2 separate regions of the Homo sapiens genome follow, and region 1 is linked to region 2. The links are contacts of gene promoters, found by promoter capture Hi-C in blood cells and fetal thymus (Javierre and others, 2016). All regions are on one chromosome and are shown on one strand. Each heading gives the region's core, a stretch centred on a gene start or on the middle of the fragment in contact. The rest is flanking DNA. Distances are from core to core; before and after follow the strand shown.

Region 1 (4,838 bases), core at 1,071-3,570, 260 kb after region 2:
GATGTTTTTCAGCTGCATTGTTCCCCTGAGTGTTAAGACAATCGAAACAAGTCTGAAATGATTCTACTAAAACCATAATTTTTTTCTTTTTTTCTTTGAGACGGAGTCTTGCTCTGTCGCCCAGGCTGGAGTGCAGTGGCGCGATCTCGGCTCACTGCAAGCTCCGCCTCCCGGGTTCACGCCATTCTCCTGCCTCAGCCTCCCGAGTAGCTGGGAATACAGGCGCCCGCCATTACGCCCAGCTAATTTTTTGTATTTTTAGTAGAGACGGGGTTTCACCATGTTAGCCAGGATGGTCTCGACCTCCTGACCTCGTGATCCGCCCGCCTCGGCCTCCTGAAGTGCTGGGATTACAGGCGTGAGCCACCGCGCCCGGTCTAAAACCATAATATTATAACGAGAAATTTGGGCCACAGTTTTTAAGATCTAAAGTGACCTTAGCTTTTTTTTTTTTTTACTTTTATCTCTTTATCTTTTGGGGTCTTTCTTACACCAGAACTAGACGACTATATCACAGGATACATATTACCTTACATTACAAATCTGTGATTATCTTCAAGAAAGCATGGTGGTGGCATGGATCTGTGCACTTAAACAGGTTGAAACCCCTTTCTATTATGTATATTTTCTAACCAGCCTGTAGAATCTCTAGGCAGTCTCTTCTTTAGTCTTTGATTCCTTCTCTTTGATACACTTAACTCTCCTCTGACACTTGATACCCTAAATCATTTGTTTGTGTGGGCTGGATTGAAGGTACCATATGCCTAATAATGACTGACTGCAGAGCCAGCGTCCATTAGTCCCATGCATTCCACAATTGTCAATTTTTCTAGGACATTAGGAAATTGGACAATAACAGAATTTGAGAAAACTAAAAAAGTATGAGGAGACCAATCAATCTCCCTACACTCAACCTTTCTTAAAGCCTAAAGCAGCAGATCCTGTCAGTATCAACAGGTAGCCTCTCATCAGGAACAGATACTGCTAGAATATCAATACTATTTTATTAGTAATTTTGGTTCAGTCCTTAAGGAACTGAAATATAACAAAGGTGATTATAGAATTAGAACAGATACATGGAGAATTAATTCATAGGCTAGCAGGATATAATACTGGCAAATTGAGTATCTTTAAGTAGTCTACAACCTGAGTCCTGAACATACGCTGAGAGTCACAAGAGAATTTGGAATACCCGCAACATATCCATTATAATTGCAATCCATCTAGGAAAAAAAAAGAAAAATTAATGGATAACTTATTTTTAAAATAAACACCCCATATATTTTATTTATATTTATTTATATGTATTACTTTATATTTTTTATTTATTTTTTACTTTAGCTACATTTACTATTTATTACTTTAGCTACATTTCTACTTTAATATGATTGGCAATTACCTAATAAATTTGTGCCATGTAGAAATAAGCACCAGCCCAAGTTATTCAATTTCAGCGAATATGTAAAATAACATTCTAGTTATTATAGAATATTTGTCTTTTTAAAGAAATCTAGAATTACAAATACATAAGAAAAAAATAACCTAATTCTTACCTGAACTAGCAGAGGTTTGGAATGACGGATGTCATTTTCGTCATAAGAATTAATAACAGAAGCTGAAGATAAAATTGATCTAGGCAAAAATAATAAAAACATGCTCAAGTTGTGAAACCAAAAAGGTAGAAAAAATATTCTTATACAAATTTTCTTTTTACTGAAAAATTTAAAGTAGTGCTAATCGACTTGTTTTATTATTGTCCATGCATTTCTAGCACTTAAACTGAATTAGGTGCTTAGTGAGACATTTTAACTAGAATAACATACAATACAAAAATGCAGATAAGTGAGCAACTCAGATTGCTAGAGACATGAAGAGGAAATAGCATAGGTCCCAATTTCCAGCATAGAACTTTCTAGTCTTTGTCTATTTCACTCATTGATTTTAGATTTTATACCAAAGTTTCAAAATTAAAGTGTAAGGTTAGGACAGTGATACGGTTTGGCTCTGTGTCCCCACCCAAATCTCATCTTGCGGCTCCCATAATTCCTACATGTTGTGGGAGGGACCCAGTGGGAGATGACTGAATCATGGGGGCGAGTCTTTCCCATGCTGTTCTTGTGATAATCAATGGGTCTCATGAGATCTGATGGTTTTAAAAACGGGAGTTTCTCTGCACAAGCTCTCTCTTTGCCTGCTGCCATCCACGTAAGAGGTGACTTGCTCCTCGTCTTCCACCATGATTGTGAGGCCTCCCCAGCCATGTGGAACTGTAAGTCCAATAAACCTCTTTCTTTTGTAAATTGCCCAGTCTTGGGTATGTCTTTATCAGCAGTGTGAAAACAGACTAATACAAACAGAAAATGTAGAAAGAGTTACTTGTTCTCACTACAAATTCATATTTGCTAAGCTATGCTAAGGGCCAATTTCTTCTCAATAACTCCGGTCAGAATTTTATTTCCCTCAGTAACTATTCAAAAACTTGAGACTACTCCTGTCACTCATCCCACAAAACCCCCATGTTCCCTCACTGTCAGATCACCTGTTCCCATCTGCACTCCTTATCTTTATTGCCAGAAGATTACTGCTTTCATTCAGAACAAACCCTTACACTGGTGCTACAGATACCATCCTGTGCCATATACGGAGGACACTACTTTTTCTATCCTATAATTTTGAACTCTTATGCTCTACTGGATTTTTATCATAATGCTATTTAAAATGATACTAATAAGTCATTATTATCCTAAAGAACTCTTTCTTGACCCCATGTTCTACTGTAGCTATTCCTTATGTACATGTTTTTCAATTCTTAACAGATTTCATCAAAAGAATTGTCTACACACAATTCCTTCACTTTCTCAATTCTTATTATCCCTAAAACTTCCCTGGAAAAGATCCACAAATATTAGAACGCCAAATCCAAAAGGCATTTTAAAAAATCATTGTTACATTGGACCTCTAGCTTCTTTTTGAAAACTGTGGCCACTCAGTCCCCTCACTTAATTTACATAACACTTCATTCTTCTGCTATTCTTCCTACCTCCTTGGTCCCTCCAGCTTTATCTTCCATGTTGGCTGCTGTTTTTGTTCAACCTATCCCAGGAAACATTGCCGTTTCCCAGGGTCCAGTCTTTAGCCACGATCTATTTATAAGCACCCTACGTAAGAGCACTCATTAAAAAAAAAACACAGCCAAGCTACTGCTTTCTGCTCAATCTATATACCTATAGCTAAAACTATTTTCCAATATTCCTATTGAATATTTTCAGAGATTCAAATTTCCTAGCCACATATGGCCCAGGATGGCTTTGAATGCGGCCCAATGCAAATTTGTAAACTTTCTTAAAACATTATGAGATTTTTAAATTTTTTTTTAGCTCATCAGCTACCATAAGTGTATTTTATATGTGGCCCAAAACAATTCTTCCAGTGTGGCTCAGGGGAACCAAAAGATTGGACACCCCTGATCTAGAGGAAAAAACACACTTGGATATCTCATATGTGCTAAAAAACCGAAATCACCCCTTCCTCACACAAATATATCCCCTGTTCATATTCCTCAGTTAATTATGCTATAGCCTATTCATTTTCTTGAGCGACAACTAAATTATCTGAAATTCCTCACTGTTTACTAATCATTCTACCAAATCTATATTGAGGTCCACCGATTTTTCTTTCAAGTGCTATCACTGGTGCCATCATTCAAACCACCACTGTTACTCACCTAAACTGTATCGTGATATAATTGATCACCTTAACTCTAATTTGTCCCCTCAAAAACAGCCTAAAAGACTCAATGTGGCTACATAAGTACATACTTAAAACCATTTTTGGCTCCCAATATCTGACCATGGCATTCTGAATCTTCTACAGCCTGGCTCCTACCTACCTTTCCCGAATCTTTTACCTCTATTTTTCAGAAAATTTGTGCTTCAGTAATTCACATTGACTATGCACATCAGAAAAGCCACTCTGTCTCACACCTCTGTGCTCTACCATGATTTCTTCTCGAAACAGAATGTTGGCTGGGTGCAGTGGTTCACGCCTGTAATCCCAGCACTTTGAGAGGCCAAGGAGGGAGAAATGCTTCAGGGCAGGAGTTCAAGGCCAGCCTGGGCAACATGATGAAACCCCATCTCTACTAAAAGTACACAAAATTAGCCAGGCATGGTGGTGCACACCTGTAGTCCCAGCTATTTGGGAGGCTGAGGCATGAGAATTGCTGGAACCCAGGAGGTAGAGGTTGCAGTGAACCGAGATCACTCCACTGCACTCTAGCCCGGGCAACAGAGCAAGACTCTCTCAGAAAAAAAAATGTCCCCCTGTCCTGCCCCTCTACTTTATATAGCTCTGTCTCCTCCCTTAAGATACAAGTAATCTCTTACCTCTTCCATAAAAGCCTTTCCTGACTTCCAAGTAATACTATTTACACATTTATCATATTACCATATTATAATAAAATTATTTGTTTTTCTATTAAGGTATCTGAATGTATCTTTCTTTATTATAAATTCTTTAACAGTGCAATATGTTTTATTCTCTTTTGCATGCCTAGGACTTTACTCAGTACCCAGTATAGAGTAGGCATCAATATATTTGAATCAAAATGATTCATTCTACTTATACATACTTTTAGAAATTAAGAAGCCAAAGTATTAAAATTTGAAAGGACAAACTAATTACTTACTGCTTTTTGAGATGGACAAAATATGGCTTTCCCTATGGTAATCATGTAAATAACCTATAACAAAATTATTAGAAAAATTCAATAATAACACATGCCAAATAGTGTATCTTCTCCAAATTAGAGTTTAAAATATTGACAAAATTAATAACAA
Region 2 (4,805 bases), core at 395-2,894:
TCCCAAACATAATTTGACATATACTTTATTATAATTGTTCACTAGTAGAACATAGCCATGGTAGGTCCCAATATTGTGTGCCAAAATAGAATTAATAGATTAATCTTTTCCTTACTCATAATTTTAAAATCACTCTTTCAACCTGAAACATTTTCAGAGTTGACATATATTGTGCCCATTTTGACTGCATAGAAATATAAACCCCTATATTGTGACTTCCAGTTTGTAAAATAAAACATTTTAAATCTGTCAATTTCAGGTGTTTCAATCAAGAAAACATGCAAGACTGAATGCCTTCAGTTTAATCAGTTTTTAATCTAGCAGGCAGGTTAGTAATTTTCCAACTTCTTTTTCCAGTTAATATTTACTTATTGTAATATTTTTCATCATAATAGGGCAAATGTGATATTTTTATTTTTTCTTTGCTTTTTTAAAATTTCTTTGTACATTACGTGCTATTAAGACTGATGCTTGTGGGTCAAATTTTGCATGTCTAAATTTTACTTATGACAAATTTCTACATCATTTACTGGACAATAAAAAATTTGTTAATTTGTTGGCTGAACCATGGTCATGAATATTTTATATTGATTTCTTTTTCCCACCAGTTTGATTGCTGAGCATTTCTTGGAAATTGTGAACAAGTAGTATGTTAAGAAGAGATGAAGAGAAAAGACAGGGAAATAAGCAGCAGAAATGGGGGAACAAGAGGATCAAAACACGGTAGGAGACAAAATAGCACAGGCAAAATATTATGATTTGGCAATGAATACAAATTAGTATGATCTGACTTAATATAAGGGTAAATAAAAATTGCCATAAAGCTTTAAATATAGAATAAATATTCCTCATCATTTACCTTCCTCTCTGAAACTTCACTGTCATTTGACTTAATCTTCCGTGGAACTGTGACATGCAGAAATATTCCTTCAGAACCTGCAGTAAGAAAATGTGTTTGTTTTTGTCTTTGTTTTGCATCAACAATCGTCTCAGTCAAGCACGGGTTCTTATCCCGGACTGCATGGTGGCGCCTAAAATTTTAAGTAGAAGTTCTCTCATGTGCTCACACTCTTTCTAGTCCACAAATTTCACTACATAATCAACAGCACATTGAAAATGGCTAAGACACAAAAAAAGAAAAAAAAATTAGACATTGCAGTTCTACAGGCCCCTCTGGTTCCCTTTTAGAATCGATGAGAGACTTGCTTCCTCAGGACTCTGAGGAGTTCGCTGAAGGCAGTTAGTACTCCACCACCTCCACCCTCCTTCACAGAGTGGGAAGATGCCAGAAGACGCACTGCGTGTGGGCCACTGAGACCATGGGCGCTGATGCAGAGCGCTAACAGGTCCTCCGCTAAGGCCTTTAGTTCCCCCTGGCCTGGCGTGGAAAGGTGTCCCTGACACACCAGAAGCACCAGCATGGGATCCCAGAAGGGAGAGGGGGAGGGTCCCAGAATGACAAGAAACTGCTCCCAGTAAGAGCCCAGCCCAGCTATAAAGTCGAAGAAGAAAGGGGAGGCTCCCATGGACTTACCTTCGTGGGCTTGCAGTCTTCCAAGCTCAGTGAGGAGGGCGAGGAGAAGGAACATGGCTCAGCCAGAGCGCAGGAGCCACAGCCAAGGACAGAGACCGTTGAGCAGCGTTGAGCTCGCGGGCAGGCTCTCGGCCACCGGGCGCCTGGGCCAGGGAGGACCCTGTGCTGCCCCAGGACCCTGGGGGTGAGGTCTGAGGAGCTCTGAGAGCTGGGCCACTTCCGCAGGGCGGGGAGGGGAAATGCCAGATGCAAGCATAGGTGTTTGCACAAAATTTGTTGCAGAGACGTTTAAGTTGTTTAAAGCCCTCAGTAGTTACATTGGGGTAAATAAGCTAGATTTTCCTTTTTAGTGAGGTTTTCTTTAGTGAGGTTGGTAATTTTGTTTCTCCATATCACAGTTTTATGGCAGGTTTTATTTACTAAGGTGGAGGAGAAAGAGGAAAAGGGAAATAACAGCTATTATTATTAGCTATTATTACTAGCAATTTTCTACATGCTACTGCTGACTTAAATATCTTTGCAAATACGGAAAAATCAAGAAAATTGAACTTTTTAATGCTGGTACGATTTCACCGTTATTCATGATAACCAAGATATGGAATCAACCTAAGTGTCAATGAGGAATGAGTAAATAAAGAAAATGTGGTAAATATACACAGTGGAATAGTATACAGCCTTAACGAAGGAAATTCATTTGCAACAACAGGGATGGAACCAGAGAACGTTATGCTAAGGGAAATATGCCAGGCACAGAAAGACAAATACTGTATGATCTCATTTGAATGTGGAATCTAATAAAGTCTATCTTATAGAAGGATGATTACTAGAGGCCAGGGAAGGTGGGATGAGGGATGGGGAAAGGGAAAATGTTGATCTAAAGGTACAAAATATGAGTCAGACTGAAAGAATAAGTTTTAATGATCTCTTGCACTACATGGTGATCACAGTTAATAATAATGCATATTTCAAAATTGCTAAAATTTATTTTCAATGTTCTCACCACAAAGAAAAGATAAATTGATGAGGAGATGGGTATATTAACTAGCTTGACTGAAGCATTCTATAATGTATAGATAGATCAAAACATCACGCTGTACCCTATAAATACACAAAATTATTTGAAATAAATTTGCAGAAAAGAAAATGGAGTTGATCCCACTAAGACCATCAAAAAGCACATTTCTTCAACAGTGTATTTTTCTCATAAAACTATATTATAATCAGTGGAGGAAAGAGAAAGGAAAGCTTTAATATTTAGTGTTATTTTTGCAAATAAAGAGAATTCAAGAAAATGGAACTTTATCTTGAAAAGACAATCAGAAAGCACTTTACTTCAACTGTGTACCTTGCTTACTACACAAGATTATAATATAGTGTTCTAAGGGAAAAGAAAACCTTTACAATGCAATCTGACTGTTTTGTTAACAGTGACTCTAAGCTCTAAGTAAGAAACTGTGGAGACAGGAAGGGCAGCAAGGCAAGGGGAGAGAGAAAAATTGAGACCACTGTAGAAGACTATGCAACTGCCTCCCTTAACTTTTTGACAAATATCTTAAATGGCACATGTCCAAAACCCAACCCATCTATCACACTCAAGCCTTTTACTCCAGTACCCCCTATTTCAGGGATGAATTGTGTCAAAATATGTGTGCAAAAATTGTGTGCAAAATTGTGTGCAAAAATAAAACTGATCAGGGCCGGGAGTGGTGGCTCATGCCTGTAATCCCAGCACTTTGGGAGACCAAGATGGGTGGATCACCTGAGGTCAGGAGTTCGAGACCAGCCTGGCCAACATGGTGAAACTCCATCTCTACTAAAAATATAAAATTACCCTGGTGTGGTGGTGGGCGCCTGTAATCCCAGGTACTTGGAAGGCTGAGGCAGGAGAATTGCTTGAACCCCAAAGGCAGAGGTTGCAGTGAGCCAAGATCGTGCCATTGCACTCCAGCGTGGGCAACAAGAGCAAAACTCCATCTCAAAAAATAAAAAACAAATAAAATAAATAAGACTGATCAGGACTAAAACTTGGATCTGCTAAGTGCTGGTACGCCTGAACAGATAGCTCAAAAATTATTATTGACAAGAAGCAGGCCATTGAGCACAATGACCCAAAATAAGTTAGTGGCAATGAAGATGAGAGAAATCTGGTAGAATTATCCCAGGTTATATTTTCTGGTAAATTTATCCCAGGTTGTATTTTTAAACAGCTTTATTGAGATATAATTCATATGCCATGCAATTTACCCATTTAAAGCATACAATTAAGTGATTTTTAATATGTTCTCAGATATGTGTGAACATCACTATAGTCAATTTGAAATTAGTTTCATCACATCATGAAGAAACTCTGTGCCCATTAGCCATAAAGTATCCTCCCACCCCCAAAACAAGTTCTTTATCCCACCCCTCTACTCCCTAAACAACCACTAAACTAATTTCTATCTTAAGAGATGTCTCTATTCTGGACTTTTCATACAAATGAATATGTTATAGGAGGCAGAAAGAAATTATTTAGGTAGACAGGGTAAAGTGAGTCCCTGGCAGAAATCTTTCCTTTTAACAAAAAGCAGCTCAAAAATACCTCCCTTTCTAACCTCAGGCAGTTCAAAGAAATCACTTCTCTTCTAACAACAAGCAGGCTGAAAGTTCAGGCTGTAAATCACACATCAACAGCTTGGACACAGAAAGAAGGGGAAGGTCTCCTGGGTAATCACCAGACTTCACACTTACACAATGGGCCCCAGTAAAACAGAGGGCTTTAATAAGCACATTCCTTTCCCTTTAGGCACACTGAGATAGGGAAGCCAAAAGCAGACTTGTGGGGGCAGGGGGATGCCTGCGGATGCAGGAAGATGTCTGGGAACAGACACAGAAACTCTCCCTCCCAGATAAGCAGAACAAAGTTACACAGACTGAGATTCTGCCTATGTGGGCAGGGAATGGGATGAGAACTGACAAAAACTCTGCACCATACAGATAACACACCTGTTCTCAATCAAACCATCTGGCCCTAGGAGGATAAGACATCCCCTCCTCACGAGCCCCGTCCTCACTAGCCCATTTATAAAAACCCTGACAACTTGGCAACCCGCTTGGGACCCCTCTCTGAGACAGAGAGCTGTTCTTCCCTTTTGTCTATTAAACTCCTGCTCCAAATTCCCTCTGTGTGTGTGTGTGTGTGTGTGTGTGTGTGTGTGTCTGTGTGTTTGTCTGTGTGTGTGTGTCCACGACCTCCATCTCCTTGGCCATGAGACCGAGAACCTTGGTACTT

The links. Contacts are between HindIII fragments. The CHiCAGO score rates a contact against its expected background, and 5 or more counts as called.
Region 1: a fragment that was not itself captured here is called in contact with the fragment with the promoter of ADAM18 in region 2 in 1 of 17 cell types (neutrophils); the score reaches 5.9 in neutrophils.

What each region holds. Positions count from the first base shown.
Region 1 is chr8:39,319,355-39,324,192 of GRCh38, reverse strand. It overlaps the pseudogene ADAM5. Among named protein-coding and RNA genes, the nearest start is that of ADAM32, 210 kb to the right of the region's middle. The HindIII fragment of the contact is 5,299 bases long and covers 1-4,838 here.
Region 2 is chr8:39,581,407-39,586,211 of GRCh38, reverse strand. It overlaps ADAM18 (ADAM metallopeptidase domain 18), which reads right to left and starts at 1,644. Exons shown (of 20, transcript NM_014237.3): 1 at 1,535-1,644; 2 at 860-936. The coding sequence starts at 1,589. RefSeq lists an enhancer at 979-1,478. The HindIII fragment of the contact is 1,955 bases long and covers 827-2,781 here.